Linked DNA regions of Homo sapiens: all the other regions are linked to region 1. Evidence: promoter capture Hi-C in 16 types of primary human blood cells and fetal thymus (Javierre and others, 2016). All regions are on one chromosome and are shown on one strand. Each heading gives the region's core, a stretch centred on a gene start or on the middle of the fragment in contact. The rest is flanking DNA. Distances are from core to core; before and after follow the strand shown. Region 1 holds the start of BMP3 (bone morphogenetic protein 3). Region 2 overlaps CFAP299 (cilia and flagella associated protein 299). Region 3 overlaps CFAP299 (cilia and flagella associated protein 299). Region 4 overlaps CFAP299 (cilia and flagella associated protein 299). Region 5 overlaps CFAP299 (cilia and flagella associated protein 299). Region 6 overlaps CFAP299 (cilia and flagella associated protein 299).

Evidence for each region. Contacts are between HindIII fragments. The CHiCAGO score rates a contact against its expected background, and 5 or more counts as called.
Region 2: a contact is called between a fragment that was not itself captured here and the fragment with the promoter of BMP3 in region 1, in 3 of 17 cell types (naive B cells, naive CD8 T cells and erythroblasts). The highest score is 5.2, in naive B cells.
Region 3: a fragment that was not itself captured here is called in contact with the fragment with the promoter of BMP3 in region 1 in 1 of 17 cell types (naive CD4 T cells); the score reaches 5.4 in naive CD4 T cells.
Region 4: a fragment that was not itself captured here is called in contact with the fragment with the promoter of BMP3 in region 1 in 2 of 17 cell types (naive CD4 T cells and naive B cells); the score reaches 6.1 in naive CD4 T cells.
Region 5: a fragment that was not itself captured here is called in contact with the fragment with the promoter of BMP3 in region 1 in 1 of 17 cell types (total B cells); the score reaches 5.4 in total B cells.
Region 6: a contact is called between a fragment that was not itself captured here and the fragment with the promoter of BMP3 in region 1, in 1 of 17 cell types (naive B cells). The highest score is 5.6, in naive B cells.

Annotation. Positions count from the first base shown.
Region 1 is chr4:81,028,917-81,032,588 of GRCh38, reverse strand. It overlaps BMP3 (bone morphogenetic protein 3), which reads right to left and starts at 1,881. Exons shown (of 3, transcript NM_001201.5): 1 at 989-1,881. The coding sequence starts at 1,304. The HindIII fragment of the contact is 6,285 bases long and covers 97-3,672 here.
Region 2 is chr4:80,410,202-80,413,873 of GRCh38, reverse strand. All of the region lies in intron 2 of CFAP299 (cilia and flagella associated protein 299), which reads right to left. Among named protein-coding and RNA genes, the nearest start is that of CFAP299, 76 kb to the right of the region's middle. The HindIII fragment of the contact is 260 bases long and covers 1,650-1,909 here.
Region 3 is chr4:80,431,114-80,434,785 of GRCh38, reverse strand. The region is part of intron 2 of CFAP299 (cilia and flagella associated protein 299); the gene reads right to left. Among named protein-coding and RNA genes, the nearest start is that of CFAP299, 97 kb to the right of the region's middle. The HindIII fragment of the contact is 5,418 bases long and covers 1-3,672 here.
Region 4 is chr4:80,455,962-80,459,633 of GRCh38, reverse strand. All of the region lies in intron 2 of CFAP299 (cilia and flagella associated protein 299), which reads right to left. Among named protein-coding and RNA genes, the nearest start is that of CFAP299, 120 kb to the right of the region's middle. The HindIII fragment of the contact is 3,407 bases long and covers 126-3,532 here.
Region 5 is chr4:80,475,020-80,478,691 of GRCh38, reverse strand. All of the region lies in intron 2 of CFAP299 (cilia and flagella associated protein 299), which reads right to left. Among named protein-coding and RNA genes, the nearest start is that of CFAP299, 140 kb to the right of the region's middle. The HindIII fragment of the contact is 962 bases long and covers 1,228-2,189 here.
Region 6 is chr4:80,516,054-80,519,725 of GRCh38, reverse strand. The region is part of intron 2 of CFAP299 (cilia and flagella associated protein 299); the gene reads right to left. Among named protein-coding and RNA genes, the nearest start is that of CFAP299, 180 kb to the right of the region's middle. The HindIII fragment of the contact is 1,689 bases long and covers 1,250-2,938 here.

The DNA of each region.
Region 1 (3,672 bases), core at 632-3,131:
GCTTTGCAGTTACATTTCCCCTTATCATGAATGTAGTGAACAAAAAAGCCTGGTGAATCCTCAAAGCATAAAAACAGAGTTAGTGTCCAGGAAGCTTTCCCTCAAGCTGTTAACACAAGGGAGGGAGGCTGTTAGCATAAGTTATTCCCTTCACCACAGGGGCTAGGAGAAACCTTGTTAAGCCATGAATTTCAGTCCGAAGTGATCTGTGCTGAAAAATGGGATGAGCAGATTTTCTTGGGCAGATTCCAAGAGGTGTTTACATCCAGGGTTGCTCCCTCCCCTTGTCTCCCAGCTCCTCCCAGGATGGATGGTACAACCCCTGTTTACCCAGATGCGTTTTAATAATCGAAACACCCAAGCACCTGTTTTTTTTTTTTTTTTTTTTTTTTTTGCCACTAAGGAACTATCAAGTAAAGTGTCAAATATAGTACAGTAACACAAAGGGCGCGAATTAGGAGCGGGTGCAATATCTGGAGAAGCGACTGGGGAAGGAGAAAAGGAGAGGGGAAGGCGTCTTATTCAAGTATGATTTCTCTCGGGTCCTGGCATTGGCATAAAATGGCATCTGCCTCTTAGTAAACATGGCTAAAGCCCAGTCCAAAGGAATTTCCGCTGGCCGATTTAGGAATCAACAGAATAAGGTACCCTAGAGGTGCTCCAGTCACTCAGGGCAGGAGGCCTCACAGGCATGGGGTGTCGCCCCTTCCCTTTTTCCACGAAGCTCCTCCAGCCTACCCCTCCACTGCTCCGCGCCTTCATTCTATTTCCCCCTCTCACTTTGGATTTGAAAACTGGGCTTACAGGAGATGCAGCTGGCGACACGCGGGGTGTGACTGGACGGAGGAATCCAGAGGGCAGCTGAGGAGGGCGGAGAAAGGTCCCTAGGCAGCGCCACCAAGCAAGGGGCAGACAAGGAAGCTGTGGGGGGTCCCGGGAGAAAGCTGGGGCGGGACCGCGGGAAGGGAGTCTCACCTCGCGCACTCACCTGCTGCTGCCGCCCGAAAGCTGCGAACCGTGTTGCCTTCGCGCAGGAGCCGAGGGCGCCAGGGCTGCGAGCCTCCCTCCAGGGAGCCCGGTGTCCGGGCCGCCTGGACCGTGCTGTACCTGTCATAGAGCCGCAGCATGTGTTCAGAGACCTTGTCTTGCGGCTGCAGCTCGGAGTCCGGGCCACCACCTGCCGTGCGGTCACCTGGCACAGCTTTGCGGAGCTCCGGGAAAGGTGGCTTCGGTCTCTCTCCCTGCGCCAGGCTCACGCAGAAGCAGCCCAGCCACAGAAAGAGCAGCCTGCTCGCCCCAGCCATGGCTAGGTACCCGCGCGGCGCGTCGGCTCCCGGCGTCGCTGCGGGACACTCCGAAGGCGCAAGGAGCCGGCGGCGGAGCCGAGGGTTGAACTCCAAACCAGCTGGGGCGAGGGCGCACGGAGCCCGGGACGCGGCCGGGTGCAGCGAGATAGCGGCCAGCCCCACTTGCTGCGCTGACCCAGCGCAGCCTGACAGGTGGGCTCTTCCCCAGCAGCTGCGCGGACCTCACCCGCGCAGGGCGCTGCGGGCGCCGTCTCCACTCCAACGCTGAGAAAGAGCTGTAGGTCGCGGCGTGTGTGGCCCGGGTGTTTTCAAGATCTGTCTGTACCTTCCCTCCTCGCTTTATTTTTGGGAACACCCGGCCAAACTGGCCGCGCGAGGGACTAGGACTAGCTCTGTTTTGGGCGCCAGGTCGGAGCCGGGGCTGTGCGCAGCGGTCCGGAGGGCGCTCGATTGCCTTTTCCAGGGATTGGAGCAGCTGCGGCGCGGCTGGTCCGAGTTTTTTAGTGTACGTGTGTGTGTGTGTGCGCGCGCGCGCGCGCGTGTGTGCGTGTGTGTGTGTGTATGAGAGAGAGAGACTTAGTTCTTTCGCTCTCTAGCTGATCTGTAGAGTCCTCAGCCAATCTCTCCCACTCCCTCGTCCTCGCCCTCTTAGCTTGCACCAGGCTGGGATAGAAGCAAGGGAGGGGGGGAGTAACCAGAGAACTGGCAGCGGGAGGGAGAGAAGAGGAAGTAGGGGTGGGGATGGCTGGGGAGAGGAAGGGAAAAGGAGATTCAGGACTAAAGAAATGGTAGGAGGGACGGTTTTTTTGTTTTGTTTTGTTTTGTTTTTGTTTGTTTTTTTTTTTAATTCTCCAAGAACAGTGGCTGTGTGGTGGCTAGCAAGAGGGCAGAGGAAAACAGAACTTCTTCCTGGCTTTTCGGTCTTATGATTCCAAACAAAGTCACAACGTGAACACCATTCTCGCTTACTTTCCCGAGCCTCTTCTGACGGACACTGCGGGCCCCTGCACCTGCAGCCCGTCATCATAGCTTCCTGTCTTTCTGAGAGCATACCCATCATAACGCCCCTCTCTCCCGCATCATCTTCTCTCGAGGTGAGAAATATGTGCGAGTCAATATCATGTTAAAAACAAATAAGAAAACAAGCAAACACACCACAACCCCACCTACAGCTTCCCCCAAAGGTTTCCTTCCTACAGGTCCCCAAAAGGTTTCCCAGCAGGATGGTGCAGTGGTGGCTAAAAACAAGGGTGTGTGGAAGATCCCGGAGTCCGGAACAGAATGTAAGAGTCGCTAGCTTTGTCTTCCTAATTCTCTCTTGTCATGGCTGTACAATGGAGATTAAACTATGAGCAGCCTGGCGCAGTGGCTCAGGCCTGTAATCCCAGCACTTTGGAAGGCCAAAGCGGGTGGATCACGAAGTCAGGAGTTCGAGACCAGCCTTGCCAACATGGTGAAACCTCATCTCTACTAAAAATACAAAAATTAGCTGGGCGTGGTGGTGCGCACATGTAATCCCAGCTACTGGGAAGGCTGCGGCAAGAGAATGGCTTGAATCCAGGAGATGGAGGTTGCAGTGAGCCGAGATTGTGCCACTGCACTCCAGACTGGGTGACAGAGCAAACTTTGTCTCAAAACAAAAAACAAACAAACAAACAAAAAACAACTGTGAGCTAACATTTTTCTCCACACTTATGCTCTAGACATGCCTTGTTATTTATATTTCAAGTATATTACCAAATAATTTTCACAGCAAAACCCATTTTACAGATGAGGAAACTGAGGCAAAAGGATACATAGTAAGTGACAGAACTGAGATCCAAATTCAGGGAGTCTGATTTCTGGCCTCAGGCCAGATAACCACACTATTAATAGTGAAATTAGCATTTAAACTGAAGTTTCAGTGTGCAATCCATGTAAATGTTTAGTGCAGTTCTTGACCATATGCAGTAAAATCTTCAGTCAATGTCTATTGCATTTATCCCTCTTCCCCTCTGTAGGGCAATGGAGTTGATCGAAAAGAAGATAGGCTCCTGGAGTCACACCATGTCTCCAGATCTGAGTTTCTTCTTTGATGGTGAATAACAACACATTCCTTTTAGAGTTTTGTTTGGATGACATTAGAAAGCAGTGCTAAAGTGACTGGCGCACTCACTAGCCTTTAATAGGGGCTCAATCCCTTTCTATCCTAAATTTATCCCAAATCCAGACTACATTCTCCCCACTCAGTCACTTCTTAACCCACTGCGGTTTGGATTTTGCCCTTAGCCACCCCGGGAACTGTTCTGCAGATAATAACACATATTTCAAGAGTAGTTGTGAGGATTAAATGAGATCATGTGTTTGATCTTTGCTTGGCATAAAG
Region 2 (3,672 bases), core at 530-3,029, 620 kb after region 1:
AACTTTTATCAATTTCTAACTGCTTGGACAGAAAGACAAAACACTGCAACAGTCATTTTATGGCATAAACAGAGAGAAATAGAGAAGCAGATTTGCAGTTAAAAGCAAAAAAAAAAAAAAAAAGAATGACACAAACATACAGACAAATGAAGAAATGAGTGGCCATGAGGCTCTGGAGAAGAAGATTCAGCTTTATTTCCCGACTTTGAGGTCTTGGACTCTTGTGCCTCGTGAGACACAGACGAAAAGTGAATTTCTGTTTATTCCATCTGGAATTGCTAATACATCCACTCTCTATAGTTCCTCCAGTTTCTTGTTCCCTTCACTGTCCCAGATTTTCTTTCCTTTTTGTTTTTACTCAAGTAGAGTAAGTCTAAGCTCAAAAGTCTGTAGGTACCAATAGGGCTTCATTAAAGGTAATAAGCTAAATTTGCAGGTGTTAGTTTCTGTCTACCTAGCTATAAACATCTCCAGCTCCTGGGTCCCACCCTGAAAGGTGTCACAGGTGAGCTCACATACAGTCTTGTTATCTTCTCTCACTCTTATCCCTCTCTGGGATGCCTGCTGCTTTCACAATCACCTAAGGGTAAGGCTTCAAAGCCACAGCCAGCACCATAGTCAATGCTCAAGGAATGACAGCAACGTCTGGCTCTACACTTTGATCTGTACTTGCTGTGCAATTTCACTCTTTCCATTCTCTGTTAAACCCACTCCAGTTAAGCTTTCACCCATACTTTTCATGTTATCGCACAGGTGGCTTTGGGATACAAACAAGGTCCACTCTCTTCTCACACAAGTTGAGAACAATTTCTCAATCGTACATTTTAACTTAATGTTATGAGGCTACCATTCAAAAAGACTGAAATCTGTTACTTATTTTATGCATATATAATAAATTCTAAACCTGAGCAGAGTCTTCCATAACACACAAATATCAATGCTAAAATTCTGAGTCTTAAACACTTTTATACTACATTCTAAATCTTCTTGAGGCTGAAGGATGCATACCCATTAAGGAAGATAATTGCCATCCCTATGAACTGAGATTACTTTAACCAGGGATTTGGTGAAAAAATGAATAGACAGATGAATGAATAGGTATGTGTGTGTGTGTCAAGGCATCATTTCTTGATATTAACAATCCAACAATAATTGAGACACATATCTACATGTTGCTGCATTTCTTCAGCATCCTCAGTGAGCAAAGATGCTGGAAAAATGTCCTCATTTTCTATACTACACATTGTCTATGCCCATGTCTCCCAGTTATCTTACTTAATACAAATCCTTCAGCTTTCTCTCTCTGAGGCAAGGTCCACAGCACCATACTCACCAAATAAGAATGAATCACTTGCTCCTCTGTGCTACTGGAATATGTTATGTCTGCACATTCCACTTTGAGCAATATATTTAGTTGAGTTCATGCGTTATTCCTCTCTGAACTATAAGCTTCTTAATTAAAGGGGCTTTTTCTTGCTTATCTTTTTATCCCAGAACGTGTCATGAAAACACATTCATTTAGGAGTAGCTTATAATATGCACATGTATATTTGAATTATAATGCTTTTATGTTTAGTGTTTAATAAGCAAAAAAAAAAAAGGACTATATGTGGATTCAGACTATTGATCAGAAATGAAGTGCAGAAGCTTGGGATAGTTAAAATGATGACCGTGAAAGTTTGGATAGGCAAGTGGTCTCCAACAGAAGGGAAGCACAGTACAGGACTAAAAGCATGGTCACTAGATTGCTTGGTTATGAATCCTAACTCCTCTATTTACTAGCTGAGGGACCTATGTAAGGTACTTAACCTCTCTGTGAGTCACTTTCTTATTCCATAAAAGGGACCTAATGCAAGCCCCTAGTTCATTGGATGACTTGAGGATTTGAAGAAACAACACATGCAAAGCTTTCAGAGTAGTACTTAGAGAAGGCAAGCCACTGCACAGAATACACCGTAGATGATGCTCTCTGTGGGCACTGAGAGTGAATGTTCAATAAATGCTATTTATTATTACTGTTATATTAATACATATCTGTTCTCTCATCCTCTTTATTATGAAGTAAAATAAGTCTAAATTATTGAATGCAAAAGAGAATATGGCAAAGAGAAATCTTATCCTAGAAAATAACATTCAAGGGCTCTTGACACCTATTTGTCTCATAAACTTCCAAGGATCAGAAAATATCATAACAACAAAACAATAACAAAAAAATGGTGAAAGAATTCACATTTTTACTAACAAATCAATAGTGCATAATATATAGCTTCGGGTTGCTATATATTATATTGTAATATATAGCAAAGGTTGTTTATTAAATAAATAAATAAGGTACAATTTTTCTAAAGACAATAAATACTATAGCATGTAAATGTCTAATCTTTTGATAAAAAAATTAGATTGTTTACATTCCTTTCATCCTTCTAGATTTTTCCCAGTACTATATATTTTACTTGAAATACAAAGACTCAGAATAAGTTAACTCTAAGCAAACCTTAGGCAGTGATAAAACTAAATGAAGTAATGATTGAGGATGATTGAGGACAACTAAGAATTAATGAATTAAGTGCCAGTTTATACATATGGATTGCTGTTTCTTCAAATTTCCTCTAAAATTTAAGTTCACTGTGGAAGTTTTCAATATCCTATGTCACTCATGGCTTTTGAAAATCTAGATGCTCAAACTCCATGGCTTATTTGAAATGTAAACCTTTTATTATTCAAGAGGCCAGCATTCAATTATCCCAATAATGGGTCAAATAGCCAAAGGAAATAAATATCTCTGGTTACATACAATGCTGCTTTAGTGGAGAAGAGCAACTTAATTATGACACGTATAATACATTACCGAATTTTACCCAAAACCTAAGTCTTGGTCCTCATTCATTTAACACACATTTCTTTATGTTCTCCTAATGCAGATGATTACTTTTTGGAGCCAACCTAATTCTTATTAACAAAAGCTGCCAGTATTAAGGAAGGATGTTTCTAAATATGTACAACTTCTTCCTAGAATAGAAAAAAAAACAGACAAGCAGGCCAAGGTTTGAATTCTGCACTCACCTGTTGAAAGACCTTAAGCTAATGATTAAATTTCTCTTAGTCTATTTCGTTATCTGTGAAAGGAGAAACACACCACCACCCAGTGATAAGTGAGATAATTAATGCAATGCTTCATCTTCAATATAACATTAGCTGTTATAATTTCTTGAATGATCATTGCTGATTCAGAAAGTTTAGAGAAAAAGGCCACATGCAATACAGTTCTATACATGGACGGGTAAGAAACATTTTCTCTTCCCGGATCTAGTCACCAATACCTGTTTAGTTAGGAGGAGATCAGAGATACCCATGGAAATACCCTTTGATCTCTGCTTCTGCTGAATTCTAGCTTCTATCCTTGGATACATGGTCCCAATTGACTATCTTCTAGGCAACTCCCACCAGGGTGAAAAACACATGCATAGAATCTCAGAGTTGGAAGAGTTTCAGAAGGAGATATAGGGTATTTCCCTGCACTGAGGTGGGAGGACACGCAAATCATCCAAGGCAATGGCTATCTATTCCTACCTTTGAAAATCTCTAAGGATTAAACTTCCCCGTATTCCTTGGTTACCTGTTTCAGTGTTTAATCCCTTCCTTATACTTATGTCCATCTTTATGACCAACTGA
Region 3 (3,672 bases), core at 807-3,306, 600 kb after region 1:
CTCCTCCCGCCTACCAAATGCTAAATATAATACATCACATATCTAGGTTATACCTCTTTATGCACCCAAATTGTGGCATCAAATTCTGTCTTAGGATGTAGGTTTGGCAGAGACTCAATCACAGTTCATAAAGAAAACAGAGGTTTAGTGCTTGTTCATTATATTCTGAAAATGGTAGTCCAGGGCTCTTACAGGCGATGCAGGCTTTTTATATATCACATAACTTTGTCATCTCTAAGGTATTGCTCTTATCTACATGGTGGAATATGACTCATCAGCACTTTTAAACACCACTGTTAAAAGTATTTAAAATACACTTTTTAAAGCAGCAGGATGAGGAAAGGGCAGCAAAGATGTAACATTTCCTCTTTTTGAAGATATGTCTGGAAGCTGCACAAATCACCTCCAAAGGAGCTTGGGAAATGTAGTCCTTACTCCATAGCAACAGGTCCTGCTACAAAACAAGAGTCCTTTCATTAAGGGAGAAGGGAAGAATGGATATCAGACAGCAAAAAGTATTTTTTCTACAATTTTAAGAAAGAGACTTGCTTATTTTAATCTAATATGTTGGGGTATTGTGAACCAATATTTGTAACAACAATAAGAATTAAGTTGACTAGAGCATTATTTTAACAACACCTGCTGCTCTAATGATGTTTATAGAATATTTTTAACATCTAAAATACAAATTTTAATATAAATAAATGTAAATTTACAGCTTATCTTTTGTATTAATGCCTGATACATAACAGGCATTTGGTAAATAGTTGTTGAATGAAATAAAGAATGAACTGACCAATTAAAAAGTTGTATTGAGCACTTGCTATGACACTATAAATGTGTTACACATTGAAGAGACTTTTTAAGTATGACACATGATCTCAAACAGAAGAGGTTGACAGCATTTTTACCTGATGATACTGGTTACAAAATTCCCAGTGAGTGTAGAGAAAATAAACTTTTCCAAATTAAACTGTTGTCTTAATGTAATATTATAACTTCAAATAATTTTTAATTGGGTATCCTCTTTTTAACGTGCTTGAAAGAAAAAGTTACTCTGAGAGCAAATAAATTAATTACTACTTATTTATAAAATGTTACATTGTACAAAGTTGGTAGCCAAATACTCCATACTTAAGATTTTAGCAAAAAAAATTACATGTGACCTATAATTATTTGCTTAAAATTTGATTTTTTAAGTAATTTAAATCAGTGACAACCAAGTGAACTATTTATTTACAATCATTAAAGCCATCTGTGCTTTTATTTGAAGAATAAAATATTCAATTATAGTTTTGAGAAACTGAGAAAAGCAGAACTCGAAGTGTTCGTTTTTTTAAGGTAAAGTATTCTTTCTATTTTCCCACAAATGTTTCTCTTTCTTATTTTTTCATTCTTAGGAGCAGAATTAAGCTATCACCACAGATCATGTTCAGGAATACACAGCTGTACATATTGAGATATTTAGAAGGTGGTTTATGAATTAAGAGAAATGTATCATCTATACACATAAAATGCTTGTTTTAATTACTCAAGTACAGGGTACCTCCATGGTTTCCAGAATATAACACCTTGGGATAAATAATGTAACTTCAGCCTTTTATGAATCTTTTTTTTTCCTCTGTGGTTTTTCATAGGTAGGAACTAACAGATGAACAGGATAAATTAAGGACAATGAGTTCAGAAAAATAACTTTTCAATATCTGCCATGCCACATCAAGAACAGGTATCTTTTAAAGTCTTCTTGATGAGAGTAAATCTTTGTTCTCTGAGAATGAACAAAGTCAATCAGTGCTCTATCAGGAATATAAGATGAGTAAAGAAGGTGAGAGGTATTTTTAATTAAAAATAAACATTGATGAAAATATTCTGGGAAAGATGGGAAGCTAAGAATACTTATTCCCCTCCCTCCAACTCTAGATTTTTATTACCTTGCACAGAAAGTATATAAAAAATAGAGTGTAGGCCGGGCACGGTGGCTCACACCTGTAATCCCAGCACTTTGGGAGGCCGAGGTGGGTGGATTAGAAGATCGAGACCATCCTGGCTAACACAGAAACCCCATCTCTACTAAAAATACAAAAAATTAGCCAGGCGTGGTGGTGGGCGCCTGTAGTCCCAGCTACTCTGGAGGCTGAGGCAGGGGAATGGTGTTAACCTGGGAGGCGGAGCTTGCAGTGAGCTGAGGTTGAGTCACTGCACTCCAGCCTGGGCGACAGAGTGAGACTCCGTCTCAAAAAAAAAAAAAAAAATAGAGTGTAAATTGCATGTGAACTGAAAAACTTGTGCTAAAAAGACTGTCTTTTAGAAATAGCATAAATAAAACAAATGAAAGGGCCGGGCATGGTTGCTCACGCCTGTAATCCTAGCACTTTGGGAGGCCAAGACAGGTGGATCACAAGATCAGGAGTTCGAGACCAGCCTGATCAACATGGTGAAACCCCGTCTCTACTAAAAAATACAAAAATTAGCCAGCCATGGTGGCGCGTGCCTGTAATCCCAGCTACTCAGGAGGCTGAGGCAGGAGAATCACTTGAACCCTGGAGGGGGAGGTTGCAGTGAGCTGAGATGGCACCATTGCACTCCAGCCTGGGCGACACAGCAAGACTCCATTTCAAAAAAAACAAAAAATGAAATAACTAAGTGTTGACTCCTAATATTTTGCAATCATAAAATAGTTTCCATTTTGATTTTCTTTTAGATTTTCCTATCTATAAGTGAGATTATTACATTAACTTATTCAAAAAATACTTACTGTGTTATTTTTGTGAACCAAGTGGGCCTTGTTATTCAGAAAATGTCCCTATCCTTATAGAGCTGACAATGAATTGGCATAGAGAACAACAAACTCTTCTGTGAAAGTAGCACAGTATCACAGGAAGTAGAGGAAAGCCATCCAGGACCATGTTGGCATGCTGCAGCCCCAACACTCACTATTAGAACAAGCCACTCCCAAAACAGAATAATTTTTATAGCCACATATCAATGGCATTCAATGGCTACTGAGCTGCCAGCTGCAGAGTTTGAACAATAGGGTTAATGAGCAGTGACCCCGAAGGTGAAGAGGCTTCTCTGTGATGTCCTAGTTTGACAATGCCTCAGGAAGACTAGACACAGCTTTTCCCTATAACCAAGCGGCTGCCAATCCAAACAGAGGGCTAGATATAGAAAATTGGCCTTAACTCAGTGGCTTCTCCAAGTTTCTTAAGAAAAATAAAAGGAGAAGAAGGAGAAGGGGAAGGGAAAGAAGAGAAGGACGAGGGAGAAGAGAAGAAACAGGAGGAGGAGGAGGAGGAAACGGAAAGAAGGGAAGGAGTGAGGGAGGCAAAAAGGGAGGCAAAGAAAGGAAGGGAGGAAGGGAAAAAAGGAGGGAGGAAGGAAGAAAGGAAGAGAGGGAGGAAGAAGGGAAGGAAGGGGGGAGAGATGGAGGGAAAAAAGGAAGGAAAGAAGGAAGGAAAAGAACAGAGAGAGGGAATGAGGAAGAAAAGCCTTGCAAATATTTGGTTCCTCTTCTACTAGAGGCCCACATTGCATTGAGTCCGGAATGCCAGATACCATTCCAGTTACTGAACAAAACAGATAAAACATCCTGCCCAAGGAGCTCACATTCTAGTAGAGGAAGGAGGTAGCAATAACCACAAAGTAAGTACAATATGTACTATGTTAGACAGG
Region 4 (3,672 bases), core at 580-3,079, 570 kb after region 1:
TTGTACAGGTCTACAGCAACCTGAATTCTTGCCTCGTCAGAAGAAAGAATTTGACTGAGGGGCATAAGGCAGAAGGAGAGACCAAGGCAAATTTTAGAGCAGGAGTGAAAGTTTATTAAAAAGCTTTAGAGAAGGAATGAAAGGAAGTAAAGTACACTTGGAAGAGAACAAGTGGGTGACTTGAGACATCAAGTGCACTGTTTGACCTTTGATGTGAGGTTTTACATGTTGGCATACTTCCGGCATCTTGCATCCCTTCTCCCCTGATTCTTCCCTTGGGGTGGGCTGTCTGCATGTGCAGAGGCCTGCTAGCACTTGGGAGAGTTTGTCTTCATAAGAAGCCTGGCTGGATGCAGTGACTCATGCCTGTAATTCTAGCACTTTGGGAGGCCTAAGTGGGAGGACTGCTAGAGGCCAGGAGTTCAAGATCAGCCTGGGCAACATAGGGAGACCCTATCTCTACAAAAAACTAAAATTGTTTTAATTAGCCAGGGCACGGTGATAATGCACCTGTAGTCCTAACTGTTAGGGAGGCTGAGGTGGGAGGATCTATTAAGCCCAAGAGTTTGAGGTTGCAGTGAGCTGTGAGTGCACCACTGCACTCCAGCCGGAATGATAGAGCAAGACCCTTTCTCTAAAAGATATTCATTAAAAAATTAAAAATTAAAAAAAAAGAAGTCCCATCCGCAAAGAGCTTTAATTGTCTCAACCAGGCTTGCTGCCTGGTTTTAGTCCTGGGAAAGTTCAATCCCAGGAGGGCCTACTCAGTGCCATAGATGAACAGATCTGTTATTGGGATACTGAAGACCCTGAACAAACAAACTGCATCCTTAATGGTCTGGGGCATTCGAAACCTTGCTATTTTAGCCTATTTCTGGGATTGAATTTTTGGGGAGATCCTGGAGGGGAAGGCTGCATCTTCTGTGCCCATTTTTAAAATGTCACATCCATAGTATTCTAAACCTGGAAAGTTACTTTTGGGACTTTCCATGCAGAAGTCTTATTTGGCTTGAATCACTAATAAAATAAATAAATTGGCTATATTTAAAAGAAAATGTTTTAGAGAGCTCTTGTCTTAAACAACCATCTTATAAATATAAAAAATACACAAAGAATACAGCCTTAGAAGCTCCCTTGGTGAGATTTTTTTAAAAAGGCAGAAAAAAGATTTTTTCAGAAATAAGATTTTTTTAAAAGTTAAAAACCTTTGTACACTCATATTGCCTGCCTTGGATCCCCTGTGGGATTTGCAAAAAGGCACTCCAGCCTGTAGTCCAGTAGCTGGCATTTGGCATGCGCCGCAGCCTGGGTTCCATTCCCAGACACGGAACTAGATTCTTCAAGATATAACTCCTTTAACTCAGGAAGAAAAAGAAACATTTGTAAAAATTAGTTTGAATTATTTGTTTTAAATGTATATTCATGTGACTCTTGAATTTTGGGGGCGCCCATTTGTTATTGATCCTTTTCCTTTCCATGAAGAGCTATTGTTTTTCCATTTTTCCCTGAGTCTCTCTTTCTTTTTTTTCTGGAGTATAAACGGGCTAAAAACTGAGCATTCAGAGCTGTGAGAATCAAAAAAATGGTGAAGGATGACAGCACTGAGAGTGACAAGTAAAACTAAGATCCAGGTGCCAAAGTTCTTGACAAAAACAAGAGATGGATTAATATGCCACAGGATAGAAATGGACGTCGGGAGTTAAGTCTCAAAGTAGAAGGCAGATTTTTACTGGAAAATGCAGAAGTAACGTTTCAGAAAATCAACAGTGAGCTACAAGCCCGGCAAAACATGGATAAATAAGTAGTCTCTATTGTAGATGGCTCCTAGAAAAATTATATCCTTGGCAGAGGGGGTTGGGGGACAGCTAGTTTCAGTTACAGCAAACGAACTGCATGGAGCATCCCATGAAAAATGAATGCTACAGTAGCATGTGGTTATAGAAGTCCCGAAAAACATCTTAAAATGCTCCAAGGTCAAGAAGAAACAGGCAAAATAGTGTTGGCTCAGGAGAGAAACTCTGACTACCAACCTTGGATTTTATAGCAATAGATTAGGAATCAATGGGAAGAATGAGAGAGATGAAAGTATCAAATAGATCTTTTACACATAAATTTGTTCCGGTGTCTTCTAAAAGTCACAGATGAATGGCATTTCTTGCCTCCATTCACATGGGCCATGGAAGCTGAGGGCTGCTCCTGTGACACATCCAAAGCACAGAATCTGTGGCACATGGCCTCACCCTCCATAACATAACATGATAACCTATTTGACTCTCTTCCCCACTTAAGGAAATTACCAAAAATAACTTTCCAACATGGCTCAATAATAATTTCAAGTTGATGTTATTAGGACGTAGGCTAATAACAAAGATACTTATTCAACTTCCCATATGATTTTTTTGTTGTGGAAAACGCTGCCTGCGGATCATCAATTGTTGTAATTCTTGTCCTTCAATTTAGTGGTTAATGGAATAGTTTATTTATACCCTACTTCAAAGTTGTATTTGAAGTGGCTACATTTTGGCATAATGCAAACTACTTGTGCTGTAAAAGTCTTCCATTTTTACATGTTCTCATGGTCTCTTTAATAATATAAATATTACCACTACCTATTTGCAGACAAAAACATCTGCGTTAAAAAAAAAAAAAAGCATTTGGAATGACTGATCTCCTCTTCCTCAAAATACTTTCCTCTGTTGGTATCCACAACACCGTAGCCTTTGTCTTCCTGGCTAAACCATCTCTAGCTCTGCCAGTTAGCTCTTCCTCATCTGTCAAACTTCTATGCATTGGAGTGTTGCAGGACTCATTCCTTGGAACTCTTTTCTATTTTATTCATTTACATGATTACATGCATGAGTCACAGATTAATGTCTCCAACCCAGACCTCTCCACTGAACTCCAACATGGTTATCCAACTGCCCTCTACATCTTTACTTGGATTTCTTCATGGTATCTCAAACTTGCTACATCTAAAATACAAACTCCAGATTCCAATCCTCCATGTATCCTTCTCTTATGGTCTATTTCATTCTCTATGTACTCAGGTAAAACCAAAGTCATCCTTGAGTCATCTTCTTCCTCATATCTCATATTCAAACCATCAGAAAATTCTTCCTGTTCTATCTTCAAAATATACCCAGAACCCAGACATCCCTCAGCACTTCCACCACTGTTATCATCCTAGTCCAAGCAGAACTTCCCCTTGCTTGGCTTATTACAAAGCCTCTCGCTGCTCTCCCTGCTTGCCTTCTTGTTCTCACTACAAACTATTCTTATTATAGCCAGAGGGAGATCCCTTTATATCAGATATCTGGACACTCCTCTGAGCAAAGCCCTCTAATGTCTTCATATCTCAAAAGTGAAAGGTACATTATGTCTTGCCATGAAGCTGCTCCACTCCCTTTATTTCTCTGGCCTCATTTTCTTTAAATCATCCCACTCCAGCCACACTCACCTCCTTGCTGTGTCCAAGCATGGGGTTTGGCTTTTCCTAACTATCTCATGGCTTGCTACCTTAGTTCATTAAGCTTTTTGCTCAAATGTCATCTTCTAAATAAGGCCTTTCTTGATCATCCTCTTTAAAACTACAACCCCACCCTAGCATCACCTTATCTCCTTTTCCTGCTTTATTTTTCTTCAAAGAATTTATGACCATCTATCATAGCATAT
Region 5 (3,672 bases), core at 459-2,958, 550 kb after region 1:
GTAAGGAAATAGAATCAACTCATACCCAACTACCATTTATGTGCAGAAGCAAAATGGTTTCACTGGGTATACATATTTATTAGAACTGAAAAATTATGTCAGGCCCTTTTTGATTTTGAATTTTCTGTAATTTTTTCTTTAATTTAGGCTTAATATTGTTTTTCAAAATGTGCATCATTTATTTGAGAAATTGCTAATTAAAAATAATTATAATGATAATTCATTAACTGCTTTAACTGCTAGAGGCCTGTGCTCACAAAACAAAAAAGAATTTTTAAATTTCAATTTATATGCCTTTTGTTATATATAAGTATGATAAAAGGCTATCAAACAAAAAAATTATAAAATAAAAGTCTGTGGGGTAAGTGGAATGGAAATAGAGTCAAGAAGAAACATGCATGATGAACAGCTTCAGCAATTACAGAGGAGCTTTTCTGTGTTTCTAAATGGAAAATAGTGGACATCATCTGTGGTATTTTAGCCTCCACTGGATACGTTTTAAAAGTTGGCATACAATACACCAGGTACGACATCCTTTATCACAATTTAAGTTATGGCAAAAATATTATATGTAAACTTAAATAATATATGAGGAAGGAGATAGTTTTTGAAAATTTTCTGGGGGAGTAAATGAGCAATAATGTTTGAGTTTAGGACAGCGGGAGAGTAAATAACTGCTCCAGGGAAATGAAATAGGATTGCAGAATCACTAAGGTCCATACTGGTTAGTGATCATGAAGTCAAAGTGAGACCAGTTCCATTTGCAGGTTTTTCTCTAGCCATTTGCAGCTCTGTAAGCACAGGTGTGGAGGGAGAAAAGAGCTGGGGTTTTCCAGGCAACAATAATAAAGCAAAATGTAGGAGCAAGTAAGTTGATAATGTCTGCCAGGGAACAATTATAATGATGGACCATAGAATCTAAACTAAGTAGGGGAGACAAATGGGAGAATAGAGACTATGAGAGAGTTTTAAAAGGTGGTAGGAACAGTAGGTGCTAGGTGTCGTGGAGTCAACAAATAAATCTAGAGAACTAAGGGGAGAATTATGGAAAGTTTAGTATTAGTGGTGACAAAGTAGAATGCTTGAAGTTGAGATTGTGGAAGGATTACAGATATTAGTAAATCAAGATCTAAGGTGTGATCGTGGGATAAGATGGATGTGCATGGCGGTGAACAAGCTCAATGAAGGAAAGGAGGGCCAAAGCCTGAGTGGCCAAAATGGAAAGCTTATCTCCATGAATACTGAATGACCAAGAGTTGCGACAGGCATAGGGATAAAGAGAGTGACAGAAAGCAAAGAAGCCTACAGATAACATCAAGAAGCAGAGGTGGGGTTGGATGTGGTGGCTCATGCCTGTAATCCCAACACTAGGGAGGCTGAGGTAGGCAAATTGCTTGAGCTCAGGAGTTCAAGACCAGTGTAGGCAACATACAGAAACCCTGTCTCTACAAAAAATACAAAAATTAGCTGGGCACAGTGGCATGTGCCTGTAGTCCCAACTACTTGGGGACTGAGGTGGGAGAATCGCTTGAGCTTGGGAGGTTGAGGCTGCAAGGCTGCAGTGAGCTATGATTGCACCTCCACACTCTAACTTGCTAGGCAACAGAATGAGACCCTGTCTCAAAAAAAAGAAGCAGAGATGGTAGAAGACATAGAAGATACAGTCTAAAGACATGATTTTCAAAGCTGGGAGGAAAGTTGGGGAAGACACACACACACACACACACACACGCATGCGCACACACACGCACACACACACAAAATGCCTGAGAAAAGCAGGCTCCAGGGATATGAAAGTGTAAAATCCACCATCATACTGGGGAGACAGTATCCTTAAGGAAGAGCCATCTGACAGTGAAGGGGTGACCAGAAAAGAGCTCCAGAGAGCACAGTGGAGGGGATCCAGAAATTGGATTGGAGATCCAGTCAGAAAAGGAGATGCACAAATGGAATGAAATTCCAGGGGATAAAAAACGCTGGAAATGCTGAGTTTCTGTATAACTGACACAAATAATGATGAAGAACACAATGAGATTAATCATGGGGACCCATTTAGACCCCCAGAGTTGGTATAAAAATTATAAAGTGTAAACATCTGAGCCAAAGAAGATGCAGAAAGAAATCTTATCTGAACCTTCCCAAAATAGCCCTCCAGAAAATGCAGTGCCATTAACTCCTCCCAGGAAGCTTCCTGGGAATTCTGCTGCCATGGAGATGGACTGCCTATTTCTATTAGTATCAAAAAGTCCAAATGAACCTTCCATACCTTCCCACTGAAGCCTCTCCCCACTGCAGCCACTACTGAATTTGGCATATAATCTCTAGCCATCCAGTGAGTTACTCATCACTAAGTATTCCCGTGTGTACCCTGTGCACACACAAATTAACCTTGTCTTTTCTCCTATTAATCTGTCTAGAGTCAGTTAATTTGTAGGCCCCAAATACTGGACCCAAGTTAGAAGAGAACAAGTTTCCCTCCCAACACTGTCAAGGCAGGGAGTGATGGTGAAGCTGTGAGTGCTAAGGAGGGTAAAGAGAATAGAGTAAGGGGTGAGGGAGATCTTTCCTTGAGTTTGGAGAATTCAAGAACTCCTTTTTCACTCTTACCAATGATGCTGTAGAGTTGCAGGAGAGACAGCATTATTACAGCACCATGTGAATCGTGTTTTACACAACTTATTAAAAGGATAGACTACTTGGCCTCACTGGAAACTACTAAGAGTTGAGCAACATTGTTGTTTACTGGCGTCTGGGTCGTCACATTCTCCTGGCTTTCACTCAGCCTCATTGAATCTTTTTCTCAGTCCCTTTCCTAGATCATCCTCTTCAACTGATCTCTAAATTTAGGAATATTCTAGGACTCTGTTCTTCACTCTCTAATTCAGCCTCTCTCCTTAGGGGTTCTTAATTAGTTTCATAGTTTTAAACACCAAATATTTGTTTGCGACACTTATCTATTTCTGAACGTACAACTCTAACCCTGACTTTATATTGAGTTTCAAACTCAGATATCAACAGTGGACTACCATCTTCACTTAGATGACATAAGCTACCTTGGTTTTAACATATCGAAAAGATATTCTTATTCCCTTCTTTCCAAGCCCCTAGAAGAGCCCATTCCTCTCTCAGTTGTCCTCATCTTCCAGTGTCAGTTAATGACACTACAATTTACCCAGTTGCTCAGGCCAAAAATAACTTGGATGTCTCAGTTAATCCTTCTCTTTCTTTCACTCTGCATAACTAATCCATCAGTATGTCCTGCCACTCTATTTCCAAAGAAATCATTCCTCATCCTGTCACAAACCACTTCCTCCACCACCTCCCTGGACCAAGCCACTACCATTTCTTGCCTGGGTACTACAGTATCCGGTAACTGGTCTGCCTGCTTCTATTTCTCCCCATAATCTGCACATTGCACTACAACCAGAGGGATCTTTTCAAATGCAAATGTGTTCATATCTACTGCCCTGTTTTAAACATTCTAAGCTAAATCTTTACATGGCCTTCAACTTCCATACCACACTGGCACCTGCCTACTGTTCTGGCCTCCACTCCTCTCTCCCTCTGCCCGAGCCACATGGCCTTCTCACTACCCCCCAACAGGCCACACTTACTCCCCTTCAAAGTCATTATTTCCTCTGTCTGGATACTCCTGAATCTTTGCAAGGCTCA
Region 6 (3,672 bases), core at 845-3,344, 510 kb after region 1:
TGGCTCACCATCAGATTACCACCTCCTTTCTGCACTTAGGTGGCTGACTTATTGAACATGGATCTACGATTTTATAATGATCCCTATATTAAACTGTATCTCATTGTTTAATTTCATCCTAGTCTGTTGTTATATTTTTGAGTTTTAATTCAAACACATTAATTATTCTTCAAAGCTTTAATTCACTGCAATTGTATTTGTTCAACAAATATTAACTGAGGCCAGGCATGGTAGCTCATGCCTCTAATCCCAGCACTTTGGGAGGCTGAGGCAGGTGGATCACTTGAGATCAGGAGTTAGAGAACAACCTGGACAACATGGTGAAACTCCGTCTATACTAATAACATAAAAATTAGCCACCTGTGGTGGCACATGCTTGTAATCCCAGATACATGGGAGGCTGAGGTGGGAGGATCACTTGAACCCAGGAGGCAGAGATCGCAGTGAGCCAAGATCGTGCCACTGCACTCCAGCCTGGGTGACAGAGCGAGACTCCATCTCAAAACACATGCACACACACACACACATACACACACACACACACACATATTAACAGAGTACACACACAAACACATATTAACAGAGTGCTTTCTATGTACTAGTAACTATGCTAGGCAGTAGAGGTAGAATTGCAAAGATGAAGCAGAAAAAATTAATTATTATTTAATCACCAATGTTAATGAAATTTTTGACTCTTCTACAGTCAAGCCTTATGATCTAGTACTCCAGCCCACATATCTTGTTGCTCTATTCACACTTAACTTTCCAGCATTCACTTCACTTGCCAGTACTTTTGTATTTGTATGTCTTCAGTGTTTGTACTTCCTTCTGCCTGTTATACCCACCCATATGTCCTCTCTAAGCAAAGTTCTACTTACTTCTTCAAGTGCTAGCTCAAATGCCAACCCAGGCAAGCCATAATTGCTAATTCTAAGCAACTTGAGGGCCCCATACTCCCATTCGCCAGGCAGGGATACCTGATGGCCAAGCAAAGCCAGCACATGACATGATCCTGTTATCTTTCCCTGCTCACCACCCAACATAGAAGCTTGTTCAGTCATTTTTTCTCCCTTAAATATGTATTTCCATACTCTTCTGTAATTCCTTGCATCTCAAGCATTTTAGAGCTTTCTGCCCTCTTAAAACGATGTGCTAAAAAAAAAATCCATTTTTCATGAAAAGTAATCTGACCTGCATTCTGAGCACCTTTACTGTATATTTTCTTTATGTTCTTGCCCTAATTCAAGCTTGGTTCTCCTGTACGGAACTCGCAAGTGTAATCCACTCACTTTCTCATATTCTGTTTATGTTAGAGTCAGGACAAGTGACTGTTATTGTCCTAAATCCTTAATGATGCCCCCAGATCTTTTTGCCTATAGAATTATTTGGGAACCCTTGATCTTTAATGGCTTATGTAGTGCTCTGGCTATCCACTCTATCCCTCTTTGTTGTTTATCTACGAGTCTCTTGATCATTTCACCACATTAATTGAAGGCTTTTGCTCTCAGCATCATTTCCTGTACACCAATTGCTAATATTATCTTGTATGTCTTCAAAGTCCATATGAATAATCTTAATCTCTCAGATTAATCTCTGCCTTCTCATCCTCAGTGAACCTTACTTCTCTACTCCTCTTTACCAACCAACTCACATGTCCATACCCCCAACCTTGTCATCACCTAAAACTGGTCCACTCTAAAACTCTTAAACTCAAAGAAACACAGCTTCCCATTATTCTGGCTTTATCACTCAGATTTTAGATCTATTCTTAGATCTCAGCAAGGCACCCAGTTTCTTAATGCTTCTACTTTCTTCCTATCAAAGAGCCTACCTGTGTCTCCACTTTATGTCCTTTTGTATTCATAGTGCAGTTCATCAATCACTGTCTCACCATGTCCTCAACTCTCTTGTCTCTCTCCTACACCCTCACTGATTTAAACTGAATGCTTGCCTTCTATACCTTGGCCACTGAACCTTGGTAGAGAAATAAGTAGTGTGTATCAGTGCCTAACTATAGATCTGTGGCTTGCAACATCACCAGCTCACTCATGGCTGTCTAGGAATACTTCTAGGTCCCACTAGTGAAATCTCTTTCCATTCCTCACAGCAGCCACTTCAAAATGTGTATAATTATCTCAAATCTCTGGCTACATCGTTTCTCAAGATAAAACAATAACCTTAACATTACACAACAAAAATTAAGCCAATAGAATTCCCTCAGTTTTCCACAGCTTGATCTACAAACTTAGCTGCATCTACCTGCATGCCTTCAGTCTTCTCTCCAGTTACAACAGGAAAGGGTTTAGTGTCCCAGGTAAGGGTAATTTCTCTTCCCATGGTTTGGAATATACTTATGAACTTCTCATGGACCTACCTCTATTTCTTTCTTTAGGAGGCTTCTGACCAGCATTTCAACATGCTCAGTTCTTTCTGATCTAAAACAACAGAAATTCTTACTCAAACCAGTGTCCATTCATTCTAAACAATTTCCTATTTCTTTCCTTCCTACCCCACAATTTAGAAAGTGCTGCTGAACATTGGCTTATATTTAGACATCTCCTATTTACTCCTCAACAAACTGTGAAACTAGACATTTCACTGAAAAATGAGATCCCACCAAGGTCATTAATGAACTTCTTGCTGCTAAATCCAATGGAAGCTCATCTGTCCTTAGCTTAATCCACTCATTCATTCAATACATATTTACTAAGCGTTTATTATACCAAAGCCCTGAACTAGGCACTGAAGATAGAGCTGTGAATAAAAAATAAAAAGATCGCTGCCCTAGGGGATATGATTTCTAAAGGGTTACAGTGATAATAAGCTGAGTATGCACTGAGAGGTGTGCTTCTTAAATAAGTAGCCTACACTTAAGGAAATAATTATACTTCATTCCCAATTGGCCTTTAAATCTTGCAGCCAGGGCTCCTCACAAGCTTTAAGATGGCAACTACTTTCTTGAGGGTCAGATATAACGAAATTTCCTATCTCCCTATGACATGGTTTGGATGTTTTTCCTCTCCAAATCTCATGTTGAAATGTGATCCCTAATGCTGCAAGTGGGGCCTGGTGGAAGGTGATTGGATCATGGGGTCAGATTCCTCATGAATGGTTTAGCACCATCTTCTTGGTGATAAGTGAGTTCTCATTCAGTTAGTCCACCTGAGATATGTTGTTTGAAAGAGTCTGAAACCTCCCCAATTTCCCTCTTACTCCCTCTCTCATCATGTGACATCACCTGCCATCCCTTCACCTTCCATCATGATTGTAAACTTCCTGAGGCTGTCACCAGAAGCAGATGCTTGAGCCATCCTTGTATAGCCCACAGAACCATAAGCAAATTAAACATATTTTCTTTATAAATTACCTAGCCTAAGGTATTCCTTTATAGAAATGCAAAAACAGGGCCAGGCACAGTGGCTCACACCTGTAATCTCAGCACTTTTGGAGGTTGAGGTGGGAGGATTACCTGAGGTCAGGAGTTCGAGACCAACCTGACCAACACAGTGAAAACCTGTCTCTACTAAAAATACAAACATTAGCCAGGCATGATAGCAGGCACCTGTAATCCCAGCTACTTGGGAGGCTGAGGCAAGAGAATCCCTTGAACCTGGGAGGCAGAGGTTGCAGTGAGCCAAGATCACGCCACTGCACTCCATCCTGGGCGACAAG